Regions from separate parts of the Homo sapiens genome. Here regions 2, 3, 4, 5, 6 and 7 are each linked to region 1. Evidence: promoter capture Hi-C in 16 types of primary human blood cells and fetal thymus (Javierre and others, 2016). All regions are on one chromosome and are shown on one strand. The core of a region is centred on a gene start or on the middle of the fragment in contact, and the rest is flanking DNA. Distances in the headings are between cores, read along the strand shown. Region 1 holds the start of MC4R (melanocortin 4 receptor). Region 2 overlaps PMAIP1 (phorbol-12-myristate-13-acetate-induced protein 1). Region 3 has its middle 91 kb from the start of PMAIP1. Region 4 has its middle 110 kb from the start of PMAIP1. Region 5 has its middle 76 kb from the start of LINC03111. Region 6 has its middle 43 kb from the start of LINC03111. Region 7 has its middle 12 kb from the start of LINC03111.

Region 1 (3,425 bases), core at 690-3,189:
CAAACCTTTAATTAAATTACTTGAAATTTCAGTGATGATATTTTTAAAAATGATTATACATCTATTCTTTAAATATTTTCCCTTAACTGCTAGAATGAACTCTCTACATTTCAATGGTGGATAATATAATATAATAAAGCATTTATTAGAATATGTTTAATGAGGCTCTGATTTCTATGTTACGAAAGCACGCAAAGTGTCCAATGCTTATGAATAACACGAAGGAGACATTGTTAAGCTTTTAATAAGGACTTTTCTTTTTGTAAATCCACAGTGCCTACAACCTATAACATAGATTCATATTTTATGGCCAAAAAAGTAGCATGACATTGGAAATAATACAGAGACTGGGCATTTTTTCTCATTAAAAATCATAGGCTTAAATTTACACAATGGATATTCTCAACCAGTACCCTACACGGAAGAGAAAGCTGTTGCAGAAGTACAATATTCAGGTAGGGTAAGAGTGAAAAAGTCTCTTATGCATGTTCCTATATTGCGTGCTCTGTCCCCATTTAATATCTGCTAGACAAGTCACAAAGGCCTCCCAGGGGATAGCAACAGATGATCTCTTTGAAGGTTTTCCTCAGTTCTTGACTCCGGAGTGCATAAATCAGAGGATCGATGATTGAATTACACATGATCAGTATGAGATACAAGTTAAAGTGAGACATGAAGCACACACAATATGGATTCTGAGGACAAGAGATGTAGAATATTAAGTGGAGGAAGAATGGGGCCCAGCAGACAACAAAGACGCCAATCAGGATGGTCAAGGTAATCGCTCCCTTCATATTGGCACCTTGGCGGATGGCACCAGTGCCGGGGAGGACAGCAATCCTCTTAATGTGAAGCCTGGCCATCAGGAACATGTGGACATAGAGAGAAGCCATGAGAGCCAGCATGGTGAAGAACATGGTGATGAGGCAGATGATGACAGCACTACTATCTGAGTAAATGATGAACAAAATGCCTGAAACCGTGCAAGCTGCCCAGATACAACTTATGATGATCCCAACCCGCTTAACTGTCATAATGTTATGGTACTGGAGAGCATAGAAGATAGTAAAGTACCTGTCCACTGCAATTGAAAGCAGGCTGCAAATGGATGCAAGCAAGGAGCTACAGATCACCGAGTCAATGACATTATCAATATTCACTGTGAAACTCTGTGCATCCGTATCTGTACTGTTTAATAGGGTGATGACAATGGTTTCTGATCCATTTGAAACGCTCACCAGCATATCAGCCACAGCCAAGCTGCAGATGAAAAAGTACATGGGTGAATGCAGATTCTTGTTCTTGGCTATTGCCACAATCACTAAGATATTCTCCAACAAGCTGATGACACCCAGAGTCACAAACACCTCAGGAGAGACAAAAAGTTGCTCGTAGCACCCTCCATCAGAGTAGCCTTTTCCAAGGGACTCACTGGCATTGCTGTGCAGTCTGTAACTGCTGCGGTTCCAGAGGTGCAGAGAAGTGTGCATCCCACGGTGGGTGGAGTTCACCATGCTGGCAGGAGAATTCCAGTGTCCCCCTGAATTGATTTAACCTCCTGGGTCAGGGAGTCGTCTCAGTTATTTCCTCCAAGTCTTTATCTGTCTGAAAGTTGTGAGGCTAAAATTGCCATGCCTGCTGTGAGTAAATGTCACAAGTCCAGAGCTTGACATGGAGTTTTTAGTCTCTTTTAGGTACGACTCTAATCATCATCACTTTAAAATCTTGGGCTTCAAAATATTCATTCTCAGTTGAAAGAGTCTGCTCTTTGCTTTCTTGTTCTCACTTCTGCTTTAACTTTAATCTTATGCATTCAAGTCTGTTCAAAATAATTTTCCTTGAAGCTGCCATGCCATTGGGAGACGAATCTGTGCGCACATGCTCACATCGGCTGCCTCTCGGAAGCTTCTGTTTCCAGCCTGAGCGTTGCTTTGAGTGTTAGGGGCTGTAGGCGCCAGCTGCTGATTTTTATGATGTGTGGAGAGAAAAAAAACATGTTCACGGTGGCTCCTCCTCTGCTTCCTTCTGACCAATCCCAATGCAATGGGAGTCTGTGAGACAGGATTATGTTTCAGAGACACAAATTGCAGGGTGACACAGATTCAGATGCAGAAGCTCCTGAAGTCTGAAGTCGAGAAGCAAGCCGGATAAGAGACTGAATTTCCCTTTTTAAGTTTTCAAGGGAAACAACTTGATCCCTAGAGGCCATTCTGTGATATCAAAACAAGCTATCTTCAGGCAGCCAGGTTCATTCTTATGTAAAAGACATCATGTGTGTGTGTAAAATGAAATGGAAAGTATACTGTCTTATGTTCCTGAAACAGATACTCTGCTTTTTGGCTAGGATACTGAATTTATTTACCTTCTTAATTTTTTGTTTTTATTAAGAACCCAGCCAGTAGTGGTTCAGTTAAAATACCTGAAAAACAGAGAGGATATTTAATGATACAGATAGACATGGTATGGCTGGAAGAACTATGTAGGTAGCTATAAATTATGAATGGGTTCAAAAGGGGTTGATTTTAATGCACTAATATCCCATATTTCTCTATTGAGGAGTTTGTGTTATAGCTGAAAAAAGGTGCTTTTTATTTACAATATTTTAAACTCATACGGCATTAATGTAACTATGCTTACACTGAACTCAGGAAAATAATAAGCTGCATTCTGTTTTTTTTTTTTAAGCAACTTTTTTTTAAACCTCCAGAGTTTAACGTATCGTAAGTTGAACCGACAAATACCTAGTAACTTTACTTATCAAGCCAAGACTGGTGATACTAGTTAGTTATTGAAGTTTCTGAATATTTTGCTTAAGGTGGTTTGAAAGATGGCAGCAAAGTTACTTTCCAAATTAACTGAACAACAGATTATACAAAATTTTGTATATTCTTTTCTTCTATGATTATTTTTGGTTTTAGTGCTCTATAGTTTGTAGCTGCTTATTTCAGGGTTAATTCTGAATCTCAGTTACTTAGGTTGGGAATGTATCCTCTTTCCTTTTGTGACAGAGACAATACTAAGTATTGTTCCTGAGCATTGAGATAAATTAACGTCTTCCATCCACCTTTGGAATTGGGTAGGACCTTATGACTAAATTCTAGCTAATGGCATGTTGACAGTGGGGCTCATCGCATTAGCTCTTTCATAATTTTACACAAGTTTTCTCTCCTGTCTTTGAAATCTCATGTTACAGGTGGCAGGACCATATCATGAAAGGAGCCTGTCTCTTGAATGATTGCACAGAGCAGAACTCACACCTCCAACTCCCTTCCCCTGTATTTCTGAATGCCTAATCATCTGTATATTGTAAAATGCTGGAATGGGCTTTCCTGAACATCATGAGCTGGAAATAATCTTACCTTCCTCTTGCCTTATTTTTTCTCTTTTTAAAAATTGACATATAATTCACATACCAAAAAAAATCA
Region 2 (3,425 bases), core at 444-2,943, 470 kb before region 1:
AAATGTTTAAATTATTTTAGAGAATGTGGACTTAATTTTAGAATAAGATTTTATGAGTCTTTTATGAAAAAATATCAGCGTTTTTTAACGAGAAAAAGAATACCTCTAGATTTGCCTATATAATGAGAGTATAACCTAAGCTGTAAATTATTGCCATTTGAAAATCAAATCCTACTTGAAAGCCACACAGAACTTGACTTCTGTTTCCCAGCCAACCTTAAATGAAGAGAAAAAGATGACATCATCTAAGGCTGGTGACTTATGCTACTCTTTGTAGCATTGCTTTTAAAATAAACAAAGTGGTTTTACAATGTTCTCACATCCCAAAGAATGATAATGCTACTCTTTGTGGTATTTGACATATTTGAAAGTAAGGTAACACTTGCCTCATCCAGGATGCGTTTTTTAAAAACTCAAAGTAAATGTCTTTATTCTTACCTTAACGATTGCTTTCGGTGAGTCACAATGTGTGTAAGTGTGTGTGTGTGTCACATTTGGAAAACAGGTGCACATAAAGCCAAAGTTAAGAGAAATGCTTCCTGGGATACTCAATTTGTCACTAGTGTGGGCGTATTAGGTTTTGCTGGTTACAGTCTGTAATATCATCAATGTTCATGTCCATGTTTTGCTTTCCTTCTCAGAGCTGGAAGTCGAGTGTGCTACTCAACTCAGGAGATTTGGAGACAAACTGAACTTCCGGCAGAAACTTCTGAATCTGATATCCAAACTCTTCTGCTCAGGAACCTGACTGCATCAAAAACTTGCATGAGGGGACTCCTTCAAAAGAGTTTTCTCAGGAGGTGCACGTTTCATCAATTTGAAGAAAGACTGCATTGTAATTGAGAGGAATGTGAAGGTGCATTCATGGGTGCCCTTGGAAACGGAAGATGGAATACATCAAAGTGAATTTCTGTTCAAGTTTTCCCAGATTATCATTCTTTGGGATGAGAGAACATTATAAAACCACTTTGTTTATTTTAAAGCAAGAATGGAAGACCCTTGAAAATAAAGAAGTAATTATTGACACATTTCTTTTTTACTTAGAGAATCGTTCTAGTGTTTTTGCCGAAGATTACCGCTGGCCTACTGTGAAGGGAGATGACCTGTGATTAGACTGGGCGGCTGGGGAGAAACAGTTCAGTGCATTGTTGTTGTTGCTGTTTTTGGTGTTTTGCTTTTCAGTGCCAACTCAGCACATTGTATATGATTCGGTTTATACATATTACCTTGTTATAATGAAAAAACTCATTCTGAGAACACTGAAATGTTATACTCAGTGTTGATTTCTTCGGTCACTACACAACGTAAAATCATTTGTTTCTTTTGACTCAAATTGTATTGCTTCTGTTCAGATGATCTTTCATTCAATGTGTTCCTGTTGGGCGTTACTAGAAACTATGGAAAACTGGAAAATAACTTTGAAAAAATTGGATAAAGTATAGGAGGGTTACTTGGGGCCAGTAAATCAGTAGACTGAACATTCAATATAATAAAAGAACATGGGGATTTTGTATAACCAGGGATAATAAAAAGAAAAAAGAAGTTAATTTTTAATTGATGTTTTTGAAACTTAGTAGAACAAATATTCAGAAGTAACTTGATAAGATATGAATGTTTCTAAAGAAGTTTCTAAAGGTTCGGAAAATGCTCCTTGTCACATTAGTGTGCATCCTACAAAAAGTGATCTCTTAATGTAAATTAAGAATATTTTCATAATTGGAATATACTTTTCTTAAAAAAAAGGAACAGTTAGTTCTCATCTAGAATGAAAGTTCCATATATGCATTGGTGAATATATATGTATACACATACTTACATACTTATATGGGTATCTGTATAGATAATTTGTATTAGAGTATTATATAGCTTCTTAGTAGGGTCTCAAGTAAGTTTCATTTTTTTTATCTGGGCTATATACAGTCCTCAAATAAATAATGTCTTGATTTTATTTCAGCAGGAATAATTTTATTTATTTTGCCTATTTATAATTAAAGTATTTTTCTTTAGTTTGAAAATGTGTATTAAAGTTACATTTTTGAGTTACAAGAGTCTTATAACTACTTGAATTTTTAGTTAAAATGTCTTAATGTAGGTTGTAGTCACTTTAGATGGAAAATTACCTCACATCTGTTTTCTTCAGTATTACTTAAGATTGTTTATTTAGTGGTAGAGAGTTTTTTTTTTCAGCCTAGAGGCAGCTATTTTACCATCTGGTATTTATGGTCTAATTTGTATTTAAACATATGCACACATATAAAAGTTGATACTGTGGCAGTAAACTATTAAAAGTTTTCACTGTTCTTTTCTGTGTGTTAATTTTGTCTTCATCTTGTAAGCTACTAATTACTAAGTGTTCATTATCAAGCCAAAGTATTTTAACTGATTTCCATCAGCAGACATCCTCTGACCTTCTGACCACACTGTCTCCTCCCAGTAGTTGGAGTAGAAAATATAGGGGAGTTTGCATGATTTCTGCTCTCAAGGGACTTACACTTTAATTGGGAGGGGAAATAGTGAAAAATAGGAAATGAATGCCCAACATAGGTCCTTTTTTTTTTTTTTTCTGAGACAGAGTCTTGCTCTGTCGCCCAGGCTGGAGTGCATTGGCACAATTTTGGCTCACTGCAACCTCTGCCTCCTGGGTCTAAGTGATTCTCGTGCTAAAGCCTCCCCCACACGCCACCACACTGGGTAATTTTTGTGTTTTTAGTAGAGACGGGGATTTCACCATGTTGGCCAGGCTGGTCTTGAACTCCTGGCCTCAAGTCATCTGCCCGCCTCGGCCTCCCAAAGTGCTGGGATTACAGCCTATACAGATTCATGATCTAATTAGAGGTGTTTTGTGAGCTGGCATCCTTGACTGCTCCTGGGTCTGTCTGGCAAGAGGAGCTGCAGTGCAGTTTCCTTTTTGGTGACCTCACGCTTCTTCCTCTGCTTCCAGCCGTAGAGTAGCAAAGATTGCTTCATCTGAGGTTAGTCATGTGCAAAAGTAGGTGTAACTCAATGGCCTTCCTGTTTGAGTGTGAGAACTAAAAGATACCCCTAGTTTTTAGCTTCAATCTGGTAGCCACATCTTCACCCCACCTCTGCCAAGGGAAAGAGTCAGCTGACACCTTAGAATGTAAATTGCCTTCCTAACATGGGAAACGTGAGGGAAGAAGGAGGAGTTACTAGAGGAAAAGAAGAACCAGAGAGCTGGAGGATGCAGGGTTATGGGCAAGATACATAACAATCTGGAGGGAGAGGCTTTTCTCTGGGAAAGTGGGGTGGAGGTGGGAGCTTGGCTTCAGAAAGGGTGGGGACAAACTACATGATTTGATTTGAGAATCACTGGAAGAGTAACTCCTGTCTCTGAGCCTGCTCGCATAGCCAGAATTGTTTTGCTAAAAGTGCACCTTATTAGTTCTCGCCACCACTAGAAAACA
Region 3 (3,425 bases), core at 332-2,831, 380 kb before region 1:
AGCTCTTAAAAAAGGTTTTGTCTTTTATCACTATTCATCTTTTAATACTATTCTCAGGGAGTATTGTGTGTAATGGAGGTGTTGTAGGCAGATGAAATAAGGTGCTGACTTACTTTGTAGGTGGTTAATAGTTTCTTTTTGTAGCAACAACTCAGAATGGGGAGTTTTTAGGTGAATGTCAAGCTTTGGTAATTGAACAGAACCAATCCAGTAATTATTTCAAGTTAGCATTTTAGCCCATCAATGTAAATAATGCTGGATTAGCAACATGTTCCTGTTTTTTACATAATGGAACAGTGTTTCTGTTAGGTATGAATATCCTTGGAAAGTGATATTTTGCACATCTTTAAAAATGCGTGGCTTTATGCGTGAGCTTAGTTCTTAGCTTTATACACACAATATACATATTTCTATTTTGGGTAAAGTTAAAATAACCAAAATAATTAATTATTCTGGCCTTTTTATGTGGCCATTTGACTCTTTTAAGTGTGTTAAAATATTTGCTTTACAAGTAGCTGGTCTTTGCTTATGTTTAGATAAGTACCTGTGTTATTGCCCTGTTCATTTAGTAATCTAAAATTCTAAGCCAGGGGAGCCATCACCAGGTGATACGGTTTGGCTCGGTGTGCCCACCCAAATCTCATCTTGAATTATAATCCCCACATGTCAAAGGAGGGGCCTGGTGGGAGAGATGATTGAAAAATGGGGTTGGATTTCTCCCTTGCTGTTCTCATGATAGTGAGTGAATTCTCACAAGCGTTGATGGTGCTTCCCCCTTCGTGTACACTCTCTCTCTCCTGCTGCCATGTAAGGTGTGCCTTGCCTCCCATTCCATCATCACTGTAAGTTTCCTGAGGCCTCCCCAGCCATATGGGACTGTGAGTCAACTAAACCTTCTTTTTATAAATTACCCAGTCTCAGGTAGTTTTTTTATAGTAGTGCAGAAATGGACTAATACACCAGGGGTCTTATAGTTAGTTGTTTCTTAGTAGATATTCTCATTTATATCATGTGGGGATTCACTTTGGTACATAATTAAATTTCCAAGAAAACTGAAGCTTTTTTCTTAGCCAAATATATAAACTTAAAAAAATTTCTATTACTTGGAAATTTCTTAGACATCTTCTTCCAAATTACACTAAACATTTGACGATCTCTTTCTTAATGAGATGTTTTACTTTATAGTGCTAGTCATTATTTTATTTTTTGCTGCTTGCTTCTAAATGGAATATTCCTATGGAGTGGCTGTAATTCATCGTTTCTTGCATTTTATCATTTAGATAACCTAAATACAAAAAAATTATCAACCACTGTAGCATGGATATAGATATCAGAATGGATGCTAGCTGAAAACACCTGCCTGATCATACCAGCATCTCCTAGTTAAATATTGGCACCTCCATTTACTTCCTCTAGTCTGACTCTCTGTCCAACAAATGGCTTTCTGATGACTAATTTGGATCGCAGGTACTTTGATTGGTGGAAGAATATGCTCTGGAGATGGAATATAAATATTCTGGTTACCACTGTAAAGGTGCATCCCCCTTCACTGTAAATAAATGAGTTGGCATCCAATCTATTGGTGACATGAGAGTTTAGTAGCTGATCTGAAAAGCTGAGGATCAGCTACATTATGGCCAACCCTCCAAGCTGGGAGGCTCTTACAGAGAAACCAGCCCACCCTTCTCTGCTTGTCTTGTCCTGCTGTATCTTTCACATCTCTCCCTTTCACTCCAATGCTATCATCAGCAGAGAGTGAGAACATCTAAACAATGTTTTAATGTGGTCTCAACATTGACCACAAAAAAAAAAAAAAAGCCATTTGGGTTTTGGATAAGAGCCCAAGTTTTAAATCATTAAACTTCTCCATTTCAAAGTGAAGAAGTTTAATGATTTAGTCTCAGACTAGCATGATTGCTGATAGTATGAACTCTGCAATTAAACTTTGTGGATTCAAATATTAGCTTTCCCACTTACTAGACCTATGAGCCTGCTTTCTTCCCTGGAAAATGGGGATAACAAAAGTTCTTAATACAGAGACTTTTAGGAGCAATAAATACATTCAAGATTCCAAAATAGAACTTAGCATATCATCACTATTCAGTGAAGCTTCACCATAATTACCTTTGCTGACCTTGGTTGGGGTTTTAGCACTGCTCAAGTGCTAATCATTCCTTGTGGTAGTTATTTTAAAATTTTCACACTTTGCTCAAGCTTTTCTCTCTCCAATTCCATCCCTTTTTCCTGATTACCATGTCTCCTTCTTCACAGATAAAATATAAACGACTGAATGTAATCTTTCCCAGCATCCCATCATCTGTAGATTTTTTTGCCACATATCCTTTTAACTAAAGGATTGTTTCTCAATGTATGGTCACTAGACCAGTATCATCATCATCACCTGGGAAACTGTTAAATGGCAGATTCTGGGGCCTCATTGCAGACCTACTAAATCAGATTCTCTGGGGGTAGAATCCAGGGATCTATGATTTAACAGAATCTCCCAGGGAATGCTAAAGTTTGAGCATCATTGCTCTAAAGCTTGGGGGTCTGACATGCAGGTCCACTTGACCAGGTCATTCTCTCCCTGGGAGTAGACCTTTAGCTTTATACACCAAGAGAAATAAAATCGTTTCCCTGTGATGTCTGGTGTGAACCATGGGGGTTTAGAGGAATCAAATGATGAATGGCAGGCTTAGCTTGGTTCATCTTTTCACAGTAAATCTAGGATGCCAGTGGAAGTAGACTGTGCAGAATCCATTGGAAAAGACTTTTACTGGGAGTACCTTGGGGTCACGCTGACAATATTTGCTTCAGTATCTCTTTTTTCATTAGTACTTCCATGGCTTTTAACTGAGATATTTCTGCTTTACATATACATATTTAAATTTTTTATTTTTAATTATTATGGGTATCTAGTAGCTGTATATACTTGTGGGGCATGTGTGATGTTTTTATTTTTATTTTGTATTTTAGAGACAGGACCTCTCACTATTTTGCCCAGGCTGGAGTGCAGTGGCATGATCATAGCTCACTGCAGCTTCAAACTCCTGGGCTCTAGAGATCCTCCTGCCTCAGCTCCCCCAGTAGCTGGGACAACAGGCATGTGCCACTATGCCTGGGTAATTTTTATTTTTTAAGATTTTTTTTGTAGATATGGGGTCTCATTATATTGCCCAGGTGAGTCTCAAATGCCTGGCTTCAAGTGATTCTCCCACCTTGGCCCCCAAAATGTTGGGATTACAGGTGTGAGCCAGCAAACCTGCCCTAATGTGATGTTTTAAGATCCCTCTTTACATATATTAATTCATCCAATCAGATTACCCACTGAAAAGGCATATTCCTCTCTATTGTAAATGAAGGAATTGGCATTCTACCTATCGCTAACACAAGTTTGGAACCTATTTCCTTTTTGTATCGATTTG
Region 4 (3,425 bases), core at 572-3,071, 360 kb before region 1:
CATTACTTCACTTATCTGTTTTTGTGGTGAGATATTTGAAATGTACTCTCTTAGCAATTTTGAAATATACAATGCATTAACTATAGTCACTATGCTGTGCAATAGATTGCAAAAACTTATTCCTCTTGTCTAACTGAAACTTTTTCTTTGACCAACATCTTTCCACTCCCTCCCTCCCTCCATCAGTCTCCAGTTACCACAATGCTACTGTCTACTTCTATAAGTTCAACTTTTTTAGTTTCCACATATAATTGAGACCATGAGGTGTTTGTCTTTTTGTGCCTGTGCCTGGCTTATTTCACTTAGCAGAATGTATTCCAAGTTTATCCATGTTGTTGAAAATGACAGAATTTTCTTTTTTTTAAAAAAAGGCTGGCTAGTATTTCACTGGCATGTTTAAAAAAATACATGTATCCATTGGTGAATGCTTAAGTTTATTCCATGTCTTGGCCATTGTGAATAACGATTCAATAAACATGGAAGTGGAGGTTTCTCTTCAACATATTGATTTTATTTCCTTTGGATATGTATTGAGAAGTGGGATTGCTGGGTCACATGGAAGTTCTATTTTTAGTTTTTTGAGGAATCTTCATACTGTTTTCCATAATGGCTGTACTGTTTTACATTCCCACCAACAGTGCACAAGAGTTACCTTTCCTTTACATTCTTATCAACGCTTATCTTTCATCTTTTTTTTTTTTATAATAGCCATTCTAACAGGTATAAGGTAATATTGCATTGTGGCTTCCATTTTCATTTTCTTAATGATTAGTGATGTCAAGCATTTATTCATGAACCTGTTAGCTGTTTGTAAGTCTTCTTCTTCTTTTTTTTTTTTTTTCTTAAAATCGCTGGCTTTTATGACGATGTCTTCTAAGAGCTCATTAGAATCTATAAGATAGCAGGAATTTTGCCAACAAGGGCTGCATAGAAACCACAGGGGCAACTCGGCCAGGGCTGCTCCCATTGCGGTGGCCAAGAACTGGCTGAGGGCACGACACTGGACTCTTGGGATAAACACTTTACTCTGGGTGAAGGCTGCATATTTAAGGACACAACTGCACATTTAGATCAAGCAGTGGTGATCTCAGGGCATACACGGAGCTTCATGCTGAGAACACCCAGGGGTCCTCTAGAGTCTTCCTCCTCGTCTTTAATTTCAGAAATTCTGTCTACAGATTTAAGGATTTCGGCAGCAAGATTCAGTATCTCAGCTCTGGAAACCAGTTGCTTAATGGAAGCCTGTGCGCTGTTCATGACCACCCAGAGGTTCTGCAAGGCCACGTCGGCGTTCTGCTTCACCACTGTCAGGCTGGCCCCCTGGTCGCACCGCAAGGCTTCATTCTCTCGCTGGAAGCTGGAGACCTGCGCCTGCAGCAAACTGATTTCCTGTTTCAGTTTCACGACATGGTTTTCTGCCTTTACAGCCCGTTTGGTCATCAGCTCCAGGTTCTGCTCCACCTGCTGAACCACCAACTCCAAGTCGTGGTAGTCGCTTTCCTCGTTGATCATTTTTGCTTCTAATTTCCGCACAAGCGTCCTCACCATTTCTGTTTGAGCTTCAGAGAAGCTCTGAATCTCATTCAGCTTTCTTCTCAGCTTAGAATTTTCACCTTTCAGTGCTTCGTAACTTATCTGCAGCGTCCGCAGGTGCCTGTCTCCCAGAGACTCTCCCTGAGCCGCAAAATCGGTGCTAGGACTCCCTGCCGGAGAGGCCGGAGACACGCGAGAATCAGTGTCACTCAACGCCCACGGGAGCAGAGACTCGGGCCCTGCCAGCTCTGACGGGGTGGAGAAAAAGGAAAGGTATGTGCTGCAGGGCGACGTGCAGGCAGGGACCCTCTCCGGGTGAGTCTGCTGGATGGCGGACGGCAGGTAGGCCCCACTCCATCCGGTGTCCTCATCCTCCTCCTCATCCAGGAGGTCACCGGCCCCTGTCGGGTCCTCGAAAAATGGCTGCCGATACTCCAGGCCATACCCCCCGGTTTGGGAGAGTGGGGAGTTGTGGTCAAGTCCCAGTGAATGCCTCGACGCTTCCTTTGCATAAATTCTGCTGACCGGGTCCTCTTTTGACAGGCCGATGTTCTTGGTCTTCAGAAACTCTTTAAAGGAGAATGGATTTGCCTCTTCAAGATCTTCAAATTTGTCATCTCCAAAATGTGTCTCGTGGGCTCCTGACGGGCTCTGCTTAGAACATTTCCCCTTTCCATAGCCCAAATCGTCGGGAATGGCGAGGCTCCGGGCTCGGGACAGCGGGGTGACGCCCCGGCGGCGCGGGTAGCTCGACATCGCCGTGGGCCAGGCGGGGCAGGCGGGGCAGGACCTGCCTAGCCCGGCAGCGGCGGCTCAATGGCCCCTGCTCTGCCCGTGCCGCGGCCCGTGTCAACCGCCCCCGTCGCCCGCCGCTCGGCCGCCCCCGATCCTCCGAACCTCTCGTAAGTCTTTTGACCAATGTCTATTCAGGTCCTTTGCCCATTTTTAAAGCAGGTTATTTGTTTTTTTGCTATTGAGTTTAGTTCCTCATATGTTGTGTTAGGCCATTCTTATATCACTCTAAAGAAATACCTGAGGCTAGGTAATTTATTAAAAAAAAAAAAAATAAGAGGTTTAATTGGTTTATGGTCCTGCGGGCTGTACGGAAAACGTGGTGTTGGCATCTCCTTCCGGTGAGGGCCTCAGGGAGCTTACAATCTTGGTGGAAGGTGATGGGAAGCCAGCATGTCACATGGTGACAGTAGGAGCAAGAGAGAAGGGGGGAGGTGCCATACTCTTTTTAACAACCAGATCTTGCCTGAACTTAGAGTGAGAACTCTCTCATTACCAAGGGAATAGAACTAAGCCATTCATGAGGATCCATCCTCATGATCCAAACACTTCCCACCAGGCCCTACCTCCACTACTAGGGATTACATTTCAACATGAGATTTGGAGCAAACATCCAAACCATATTATATGTTTTGGATAGTAACCCCTTATCAGATGTATGGTTTGCAAATATTTTCTCCTATGCCATGTATTGTCTCTTCACTCTGCTATTTGTTTCCTTTGCTGTGCAGGAGCTTTTTAGAGTGATGCAGTCCTATTTGTCTCTTTTTGCTTTTGTTGCATATACTTTTGGGGTTATATTCAAAATATTGTCCAGACCAATGTCATGGAGCTTTTCCCTTATGTTTTCTTTTAGTAGTTTAACTACTAAAATAAAGTTTCAGTAGTTTAGTGAAACTACTAGGTTTCAGGTCTTAATTTGTCTTTAATCCAGTTTGAGTTGATTTTTGTATATGGTGAAAATAAGGATCCAATTTCATTCATCTACATTTGGATATCCAATTTTCCCCACACCATTTATTGAAAAAGCTGTCCTTTCCTCATTGTCTCTTCTTGGCACCTTTATTAAAACTCAGTTTTCCATAAATATTTGGGGTTAT
Region 5 (3,425 bases), core at 641-3,140, 320 kb before region 1:
ATTAGATAATGATCATCAGTTGCTGCTATCATCACAAAAATGGAGAAAAACAGAAATTATGTATGTCCTGATAGCAACATACTGTGTCACTTAAAAAATATTCTTACCATGAATCAAACCTGAATCTAATCATGACTCTAGGCCTCATGACTAAATTACAGGAAATTCAAGAGGCAGAGGAACAATTAACATTGAATGTGATCAGCAAAGTTCAGACTGAGAGAAGCACTACAGGAAAAAATGGTCAGTTTTTTTTGGTACATAAACTGCAAAAGAAAAAAACTGGAGGGAAACCTATGGGATGAGAGAGACTTAAGACATGTATCAACCACATGCTATAAATTTGGATTTGAGCAGATTTTTTAAAAAAATAAAAAATTGGGACAATTCATACATTTGATAATATTAGGTATTATTGCTAATTTTAAAGACATAATATGGTATTGTGATTATATTAAAATGTTCTTATCTTTTGGATATACATACTGATTTTTTTATTTTTATTTTTATTTTATTTTTTAAATTAAAAAAATTTTTAACTTTTAAGTTCAGGGGTACAAGTGTAGGTTTGTTACATAGGCAAGCTTGTGTTTTGGGGGTTTGTTGTAGAGATTATTTCATCACCCAGGTCTTAAGCCTAGTACCCATTAGTTATTTTTTCAGATCCTCTCCCTCCTCCCAACTCTCCACCCTCCGAAAGGCCCCAGTGAGTGTTATTCACGCTGAGGTATTAATGGATGAAATAATATAATTCCTTCAGTTTCTTTAGCAATAATGCTTGTGTGAGGTTTTTGATGTGACTATGTCTTGAACAAGGTAGTCTATGAAATTACAAAAGTTGAAGCTGGGTAATGTGTAGGACATGGTGCTGTATTATAGTATTTTTCTACTTTTGTATATATTTAAAATTTTCCATAAAGTAAGGTTTAAAATATAATACTAACGTTTAAAATATAATACTAATATAGTGACAACCGATGTCCACAACTCCAAGTTTAAGGAGAAACATTAGGGATGTAGCCAAATTTCTCTTTGTGCTGTTCCCCAATTACATTTCAGTCTCTTTTCTTCAGGCATACTGTTTCCCAGAATTTATCATTTTTTACCCTCATTGATACCTTTACAATTTTACTGCATATACTTATATCTGTAAACTTTACAAAGAATTTCTTGCACATTAAAAAGCTCTGTCTGTGGTGGTGTATCATATATACAAATATATTCAACATTATATTTGTGGGGTTCATTAATGTTGATACATGACATAAAGCTTCAGTTCATTTTTTTACTGTTGTTTAGGATTTCATTGTAGGAATATGAATTTGTCTATCTATTACCTGTTGATGAATATTTGGGTTGTTTCCAATTATTTGCAATTATAAATAATGCTGTATGAAACTTGTATACATATTTCCTTGGCATCCTGAGCAAGAATTATTCTAGGGCTTGTTGCTTAGAAGTAGAAATGTTACATTTCATGGCATGCACACCTTAAACACTGCTAACTATTGCCAGTGGCTTTCCAAGTGTTTATACCAATTTGCATTTTTTCTACCAGCAATGGCTAAAAGTTCCCATTTCTCAAACTTTGACAAGTATTTGCCAATATTTTAATTTTTGTCAAATTGATGGGTATGAAATAGTATCCTTTTTTGTGTTAGTTTGCATTTCTCTGCTGACATCTAGTGAATTTGACTACCTTTTCTCATGCTGTTGGTCATTTGATTTCCTTTTCTGTAAACTGCCTGTTCATATCTATTGCTCCTTTCTCTATTGTGTTTGCTTTTTATTATGCTGATTTGTGGTAGTTCATATATATGTACTGTACTTTTTGTTATTTTTATATATTTCAAATACCTTCTCCCAGTATACAGTTTTTCACACTCTTTTAATCATATTTTTGATCCATGGAAGTTTTAATGTTAATTTAAATGCATCTATCCTTTTCTTTATGGTTTATGCTTTCTGTATTTTTAAAATTCTTTCCCATCCCTAATGCAATAGGAAATCCTATATTTTCTTTTCAAAGTTTAAAAAATTTGATCATTTAATTTGGACCTAAATCCAACAGGGACAGTGGAGAATATGTGTTTTTTGATGATAGAATAGCATCCTCAGCTTTCTTCCTGTCTGAGAAATTGGAAGCCCAGAAGCCTTTTTACACATACAATAGGCTAGTACAACTTTTGCTAATACGTCTCTCTCAAAAACTTTGTGGGTTTTCTGTGTATCTGTTTCCAGTTAACTCTATTTGCCCAAAAATATACTCACAATTATTTTTAATACATCATTTTCTCTATACTTAATTACAAGTATTTTAAGCATATTGCATCTGTGGGACCATGCCCCTAAATATTATAGATGCTGTTTTTGTCAGTAAGACAGCCTACTGAAATCATCTAGAGATGGCTACACTCTTGCCTTGGTCTTTGATACGGGGCTATAACCTAATTTGAAAATCTAGTGGCTGGAGAAGCTGGAGAAGGGAAAGAGTTCAGTGTTTTAGTTAATAAGCTTTTGGTTTTCTTTTCTTTTTTTTTTCAATGAAAGCAAGTTTATTAGGAAAGTAAAGGAATAAAAGAATGGCCACTCTGTAAACAGAGCATGGTTATTTTTTTGGTTATTTCTTGATTATATGTGAAACAAAGGGTGGATTACTTATGCTTCCCCTTTTTAGACCATAGAGGGTAACTTCCTGACGTTGCCATGGCATTTGTAAACTGTCATGGTACTAATGTGAGTGTAGCAGTGAGGATGACCAGAGGTCATACGTTGCCATCTTGGTTTTGGTGGGTTTTGGCCGACTTCTTTACTGCAAACTGTTTTATCAGCAAGGTCTTTGTGACTTGTATCTTGTGCCAACCTCCTATCTCATCCTATGACTTAGGATGCCTTAACCATCTGGGAATGCAGCCCAGTAGGTCTCAGCCTTATTTTACCCAGCCAGCTTTTGGTTTTCTATGTTCCCTCTCATTCTGCTTGCCAAGGTGTCCAGTTGTTTTCTGAGGTTGTGCCTTTCTCATAGAGCCTTTCCAAATGCACCTAAAAGCAACTGATTGACACTTTCAACATTTTGCCTGGAAACCATGAGGCACAGGTTCACATATTTATTTTCTTTCTTTATCTCAGGTGACAGTGGTAGCCATCTTTTGGTTACTATGTAACACAAGTTGTTATATTTCTAGCCACCCATAACAGGCGTTATGGGTGGAACAATAATAGTTTTCTCACAAATTGTCCAGCCTCCTATGAAGTTTCTTTGTCTTCTGTTGTCCTATACCCAAATCAATACCACACATGTTAGCTTTTCATTTTAGCATTTTATGCAAATAAAGTCATGTAATTCTTGCAACTTTACAAGACAGGTACTGTTATTACTCTTTTTGTGGCTGAGAAAATGGGGACTCTCCTCTGATACAGGAGTT
Region 6 (3,425 bases), core at 304-2,803, 290 kb before region 1:
AGAAGAAAACAGAGAAAACATTTGAAGACATTGATCTAGGCAAAAATTTTATGGTTAAGACCTCAAAAGCACAGGTAACAAAAAAAAAGTAGACAAATGGTACCATGCAAAACCAAACAGCTTCTGCACAACAAAGGAAATTATCAAAAGGGTGAAGAGACAACATGTTGAATTGGAGAAAATATTTGCAAACTATCCAACGAGGAACTAATAATCAGAATATACAAGCAACTCAAACTACTCAACAGGAAAAATAATCACATTAAAAAGTGGGCAAAGGACATGAATAAACATTTCTCAAAAGAAGACATACAACTGGCCAACAGGTATATGAAAAAATGCTCGACATTATTAATAATCAGGGAAATGGAAATCATAATCACAATGAGATATAATCTTACCTTAGCTAGAATGGCTATTATTAAAAAGTCAAAAAGTAACTGATGCTATTCAGGATGTGAGAGAAGGGAACTCATGCACTTTTGGTGGGAGTGTAAATTATTATAGCTACTATGAAAAACAGTATGGAGATTTCTCAGAAATGAAATCAGTATATCAAAAGGATACCTGCCTCCCTGTGTTTATTGCAGCACTATTCACAACAGCAAAGATATGGAGTCAACGTATCCTTCAATGAACAAATGGACAAAGAAAATGTAATATATAAACACGATGGCATACTATTCAACCACAGAAAAGAAAGAAATTGTGTCATTTAGAGCAAAATGAATGAAATTGAAATCTCATGTTAAATTAAGTAAGTCAGGCACAGAAAAACAAGTATCTCATGTTTTTACCATATGTGGGAATTTAAAGAGTTGATTTCATGAAAATTGAGAGTAAAATTTAGGTACCCGAGTCTGGGATGGATGTGTGGGTGAGTGGTGGGGTGGGAGCCTTGAAGAGAGACTGGTTAATGGGTACTATGGCAGAGTGGGGTGACTGTAGTTAATAACAATGTATTGTGCATTTCAAATTAGCTAGAAGAGAAGACTTGAAATGTTCCCAATACATAGAAATGATAAATACTTGAGGTGATGGATACACCAATACCCTGGCTTGATCATTACATATTCTATTAATGTAACCAAATATCACATGTACCCCATAAATATGCACAAATATTATGTATCAAAAATTAAAATCTCAAAAATTTTAGTATCCAAAGTGTATAAGACATATGTGTCATATGGAAGAAGAAACAGTAAATCTTAGCCAAAATAATAATTTGTAAGCTTCTTTTGGATAGGAATATTTTGTATTTTTCAAATCACAAACCTTCTAAGTCTCAATTTTCTCATTTAAAAAACATATGCTTGACTTAAATTTGCAAATTCTTTAATATTTAAAATACTATAAAAGAAAACAAATGTATAAAATTTCAAGCCAATTATCTCTATGGAAATTTATGTGGATGCCGCACACAGAAGGAACAAATCGAAGAAAAATCTTACAAGTAAAATTTCACTTATGTAATTTCCTAATTTCCTAAAACAAGCAGTTAAAATAGACATGAAATATCTTAATTTTCAATCCACAGAATAAATAAAACAATATAATTTTATTTTATAACCAAACAATTTTAATTTCCCTATTTTCTTCACATAATATTGTATTTGAAATGAACTTTTTCTATCATATGTAGTGCAAACACATAAGCGTACTTATTCAAGTGCACAGATGTTGTTTCTAGCAGGATTTAAAATTGCTATTATTGGGCAAACTAACATAAAAATGGACCTTAATGTTTGTATGTTGATTCAACAGGATAGAATTTAATGTTGCAAAAAGAAATGATAAGCAGCAGATGAAACAAGTTATTATCTTTGCCTGTATTGCCACATTAATCGTTTATTATTAGAACTAAAATTTTAAGCTTTTTTTTGTTAATATTAGTCATTATCATACATATGCATATACTTTCGTATAAACAACACAACTAATGTATTAGTGCCAGTTATTATCTGTGTGGCTATTAGCAAGTCATATAGTTTTCCTCATTAACAAATAGGCTACCTAAACCTCTGGTTTCTCATTTACAACAGGCAACAGAGTTTTTGAAGAAAAACAATTGGTGTTAATGCCTGGCATGGGCTTAGCACACAAATTCTCAATAAATGGTAACTTATTAACAGTTGATAGGTATTTGTATCTATTGTCAGTGAATTTCAGTATTTTTAAATTTTAAGACAATACTTAAATTTTGCCTTGTTTATAAAAGGAAAAGCCAATTTGTAATAAATTCTCAGAATCGTCTTAAGCTTAACATCTACTTTTCTTTGTTTTCTTTTATGATGAACTACAGCATCTGAATTGGCTTAATTAATTAGCAAATAACATTTTCTAGATTTATAAAGATAAATTAGTCCAAGTCATTTTTTCTTTAAAGGATATCCATTTTTCAACTATTTTTTGCATGGGGACTTTAGATTTTGGGAAAAGCCTTTTTGAGAAGTAGTATTTTAGATTCTATGATTTCTTAGACATACTGCTGGTAAATGGTTTTCTTTCATCTGTGCATGCTACATTGGGTTTCTGTGGGCAACAATCATGCCTTCTGTGGTTTTTGCACTCAGTAACTCTACCCCTTAGTGTGATCTTGCTTCGGTATTAGAGAGACTCAGGGCTGGAAGAGAATATCTGATGTTCTACCCAGCATGCAGTCCTCACCAAGTATCTCTTACAGATTCAAATCTTTTGGTATAACTCTCCTCCCACACACAAGGGATTCACTCTTTTTCAAGTAGACCTTGGTAAGTATATGACCCTTCAAAGATTGTAATAATCTAATTTATGATTTTTATTTAATAACTTGTTTGTTTATAAAGTTTTCTATTGTTTGAAGACACATTTAACTAAGATCTGTCTTCCTACAAGTTTTTACTGATTGATTGCAATTCTGCTCTCTCGCATTTAACAGAATTAAGTTTGGTTCAATTTTTCCCAAAGCTAATCCTTTAAATATTTAAGGAATCTATCATCTCACTATATATATTGTATTTTCTAAGCTGAACATTTCCAGTTTCTGTAGGTGGTCTTTCATATGATGAAATTTCTGAATTCTTCTTCATTCTGGGTGTTATTAGGTTTACCAACGTCCTTCTTGAAATGTGGTGTAAGAATTGAACAATCTTTTTTATTTATTTATTTTTTTTTTAACATTCTTTAGTTAAGATTTTTAACACTCTGAAGAGGCCTGAGCCTAGGGCTTTATTCTTTTGTTTGTTCAAGCTACACAGTTATATTAAGGCATTCTATCTTTATTGGTTAACAATGCAAGCATTTGTTACTCACTTTTTGTGAGTGTATGTGACTGCTGTTTGAAATCCGTTGTGATGTTGGCAAAGTGTCTTAATCATGCACAAACATAAGTAAGAATACTTTTGTTTTTCATAAAGTCATCAATATTCATTTAATTGTCTCTT
Region 7 (3,425 bases), core at 496-2,995, 260 kb before region 1:
ATAACACTTTAGGAGTAAGAGATGAGAAATATAAAATTGTCACCAGATTCAGCAACTTGGCATGAATTAACGTTCAACATCAGAACTGAACAAGTTTATCTCATTCTATAACCAGTCACTCTCTAGGACACCCATAGAATGGGACATAAGGCAGGATGTTTAGAAAAGAAAGGGGAAGAAAGGCCAAAGTTGGAAGCAAGGGCATTACAGAGCAGAACCAGCTGGGGAGTTTAGGAAAAAAAAAAAAAAGAAAATTATCTGAAATCTGAACTAAAACAAACATGAAGTTGCTTAGTTTTGTCCAGACTCTGATTCCATTTGTTGTTTTCTAAAAAGCTACCATTTTCTTCCATCATCTGGCAAAGTGAAAAGAAAATGGGAAGTTTATATCTGTAAAGTCTAGGTATTCATTGTATAATATCAAGGAGTATGTTTTGTGTTGTTGCCGTAATTATAGTAGTTAAATAACTGTTTAATTATATTCATATACAATTAAATGATAAGCAAATATTTAGGAGTACAAATAATTTTAATATTTTACCATTACATACTTATTGAAGCATTGGTTTTATTAAACTTTCAAAGTAATATGGCAAAAAGGTGGCCACATACCAAATAGTATCATACATTTCTTAGAATCTCTCCTAGCAAATAAACCTACAATTAAATTTAGAGTATGAGTCAGTTGAAAAGACAATTTAATTTTTTTGCCATAGAATTAAAATATTTCTGAGAAGTCAGAGTGCTTTGCAATGTTTGGTGAATAATTTACATAATTCCGGAATAATGTCTCACTTATGGAGAATACACCTACCACTTCCTTCGGTAAACAGAAATAGAGTCTATGGTTTCTAGAATCACTTTGTTTTATCCTTTTTCATTCCTTTGCAAATTGAGCAAACCTGAATAAACAGTAGGTTCTTTCATAGTGCTTCATTTACAGATTTATGTGATATATATTTTCATCACATTGTAAAAACTGGAGAATATCTCATCTGTATATAGAACATAATTATCTGAGAGAATCTAAAGATCACAGCCTAACCTTATTTTTACAGGGTAATACTTCCTCTGACATCTTAAAGTTTGCTTCTGTGTCTAGGAAACTCAATTAATATAACTCCTGGATTCTCTTCACTCATTCCAGGATCATTTATTTTATTAGCAAATTTGGGAAAGAATAATTAGAGTTGTATATCATGTATTTAATGTTATATTTGAGAATATTTAATTTTGCACCAAAAACAAAACCCAGAAAAGTAATGGGATGGATGAAACTGATAGTCTCCATTTGTTACAAATTGTGAAGTTGGAAGCTTGTATAACCTGTCTAAGACAAAATAAGTGAAAGATGTGGGTCGAACATAGATGAAGAATGGAACAAATGAGAGTGCCGCCTGTAGATAGAAATGGAAGAACCAAGTAAATATTAAATATTAGCAAAGCACAGAACATGTTACGTCTACAGTGACAACCAAATCATTCCTAAATCAACCATTTATTGGTGACACAAAGTCTGGCCCCAACTGTATGCTGATGCGGAAATTCAGAAATAAGGCCTGGCTGCTCGGTAGGTTGTAGATAGCTACAGCTGTGGCCAAGCATACTTGCGTCCTCATTTCTCCAATACCACAAGCACGTGTTGGCTCCAGGCACTATCTACCTGTTGGGACCTGTTGTTCAGTCTCAACCCTGGTCTTTGTAATCACAGCATCAGCAGGAAAGGCTGATGTGGAGAGAAATAGGACATATGAACGTTGCATAATCCTGGACTCAGTAGTGTGGTCCTTCCATATCCACCATATCTTATCCCATCTTGTTCCTCTGCTTGTTTCTATATGTTTTAAAATTGATTTAATACATTGCATGAGTTGAGCATCTTAACATGATACATAAGACTTGTTGTTCTGTAACTTTTTAGATAGTTTGTGTGGTATTGTACTTGGAGACTACCATTAGGCAAGGTAAAATTTCTCCTAATACAGGTAGCTCACTCAGTCACGCTTTTCTTACTTTGGGGATCTAGCTGCTCAGAGAGAACAGATGTTCCACAGCTGTCCCCAGGAACAAGCTCTTCTGCTGCAACAGGGAGGCCTGCCAGACTTGACCCCTGAATAGGGAAGTCTGTCTAGTCCTTGCTCGTTTCATTCTCACACCAGCTAGGCCCTCTGACTTAAGCTTTATAGATAATAAAGATAATATTTTGACCTCCCACCTGTCACTATTTAATTTTGTTTTTCAATTTATTCAGCACGTGGGTACAAAAAAGCAATAACATTTGTTGGACCCATTTAGGCTTTCCAAGCTTTCCTCACCTTAGAATTGGGGTCACTGAGGCCAAAGTAGGCCAAGGAACATTTAGACTGTCCTTGTTACCAGGGCGGGTATAGTAGCATTCTTGTTTCTTTAAGATCAAACATGGAGGTATGGGCTCCTGCTGGGACTCTCTGTTGCTCTGTTGTGTTTCAGGTGGGCTGCATCAAATTGGGGCCTTAGTGGTCGCTCTTGTCCTGTATCCTCTGGATGTGGAAGGCTCATGCCCAACACATCTAAAGGACCTAACCCATGGGCCCCAGGTTATCCTGTCCTGGGCTTAATTATCTTCTCCAGTCTGCTCATGTGTCCTATGGCCAATTATGGCTGTATTTCCATCCAGACTTATGGAAGCTTATTTTTTTCTACCTCCTACATTATGTGAACACTGGCTCTGAGTTAATCCTGAGATTAACTGAGGCTGAGTCAAACCAGTGCCTTGTTTCTTCAGGAGCCAGCAGTATAATCCTTTGACATTTTCCTGTAGTTATGTAATCCCTTGACATCTCTCTTGTAGGTCAGTTTTATGCTAAGATGATAACACTTCACTTGTTTTCAAGTACATGGTCTCTCCTAGACTGCTTTCAAAATCTTAGTTTCCTGACTTTAAGATGCTATCCTCTCTGCTCTTTCTTCATTCCATTTCCTTCCACTCAAGGAAGTGGTAGAATTTTACTCCTGAGTTTTCTAGGAAAAAGCAGCTTTCCAAATAAAATGCTTAAAACAGTTTATTTACTAGTAACAAGGAAATTAGTACCTTCTCTTACCTTTAATTTCAGATCTATCAGTTACTCACCTCCAACATTACCCAATTTCTTTGTCCTTAAAGTGTTCATTTTACTTCAAAACCTGTTGCTATCAGTGAGAATAATGACTGCATTTTGCTTATTTATGGCTTCTAGGGCCTAGCACAATTCCTGGCTTAGTAAGGAGGAAATATATCATAGTGATTAAGAGCTGTTAGAGAAAATATATACCTATATATTTGTCACTCAATTTCTATTTTTCTTTTTCTAAAACAGCATCCCAATGTTTCTCTATGGGAAATACTATTGTCCCTGTTAAATATCATCTATTAGGGCTGTTATTCCTGGTGCCCAAGGTATGGTGTG

Evidence for each region. Contacts are between HindIII fragments. The CHiCAGO score rates a contact against its expected background, and 5 or more counts as called.
Region 2: a contact is called between a fragment that was not itself captured here and the fragment with the promoter of MC4R in region 1, in 1 of 17 cell types (fetal thymus). The highest score is 5.0, in fetal thymus.
Region 3: a contact is called between a fragment that was not itself captured here and the fragment with the promoter of MC4R in region 1, in 1 of 17 cell types (fetal thymus). The highest score is 8.0, in fetal thymus.
Region 4: a fragment that was not itself captured here is called in contact with the fragment with the promoter of MC4R in region 1 in 1 of 17 cell types (fetal thymus); the score reaches 5.7 in fetal thymus.
Region 5: a fragment that was not itself captured here is called in contact with the fragment with the promoter of MC4R in region 1 in 1 of 17 cell types (fetal thymus); the score reaches 6.8 in fetal thymus.
Region 6: a fragment that was not itself captured here is called in contact with the fragment with the promoter of MC4R in region 1 in 1 of 17 cell types (fetal thymus); the score reaches 5.3 in fetal thymus.
Region 7: a contact is called between a fragment that was not itself captured here and the fragment with the promoter of MC4R in region 1, in 1 of 17 cell types (fetal thymus). The highest score is 5.7, in fetal thymus.

Annotation. Positions count from the first base shown.
Region 1 is chr18:60,370,836-60,374,260 of GRCh38, forward strand. It overlaps MC4R (melanocortin 4 receptor), which reads right to left and starts at 1,940. Exons shown (of 1, transcript NM_005912.3): 1 at 227-1,940. The coding sequence starts at 1,514. The coding sequence ends at 516. The HindIII fragment of the contact is 4,351 bases long and covers 1,904-3,425 here.
Region 2 is chr18:59,902,006-59,905,430 of GRCh38, forward strand. It overlaps PMAIP1 (phorbol-12-myristate-13-acetate-induced protein 1), which reads left to right. Exons shown (of 2, transcript NM_021127.3): 2 at 642-2,300. The coding sequence ends at 748. Among named protein-coding and RNA genes, the nearest start is that of PMAIP1, 3.7 kb to the left of the region's middle. RefSeq lists an enhancer at 2,821-2,990. The HindIII fragment of the contact is 5,229 bases long and covers 1-3,425 here.
Region 3 is chr18:59,988,862-59,992,286 of GRCh38, forward strand. No RefSeq gene overlaps it. Among named protein-coding and RNA genes, the nearest start is that of PMAIP1, 91 kb to the left of the region's middle. The HindIII fragment of the contact is 1,051 bases long and covers 1,057-2,107 here.
Region 4 is chr18:60,008,855-60,012,279 of GRCh38, forward strand. It overlaps the pseudogene ENTR1P1. Among named protein-coding and RNA genes, the nearest start is that of PMAIP1, 110 kb to the left of the region's middle. The HindIII fragment of the contact is 7,406 bases long and covers 1-3,425 here.
Region 5 is chr18:60,047,656-60,051,080 of GRCh38, forward strand. No RefSeq gene overlaps it. Among named protein-coding and RNA genes, the nearest start is that of LINC03111, 76 kb to the right of the region's middle. The HindIII fragment of the contact is 1,244 bases long and covers 1,269-2,512 here.
Region 6 is chr18:60,080,398-60,083,822 of GRCh38, forward strand. No RefSeq gene overlaps it. Among named protein-coding and RNA genes, the nearest start is that of LINC03111, 43 kb to the right of the region's middle. The HindIII fragment of the contact is 641 bases long and covers 1,234-1,874 here.
Region 7 is chr18:60,110,894-60,114,318 of GRCh38, forward strand. No RefSeq gene overlaps it. Among named protein-coding and RNA genes, the nearest start is that of LINC03111, 12 kb to the right of the region's middle. The HindIII fragment of the contact is 862 bases long and covers 1,315-2,176 here.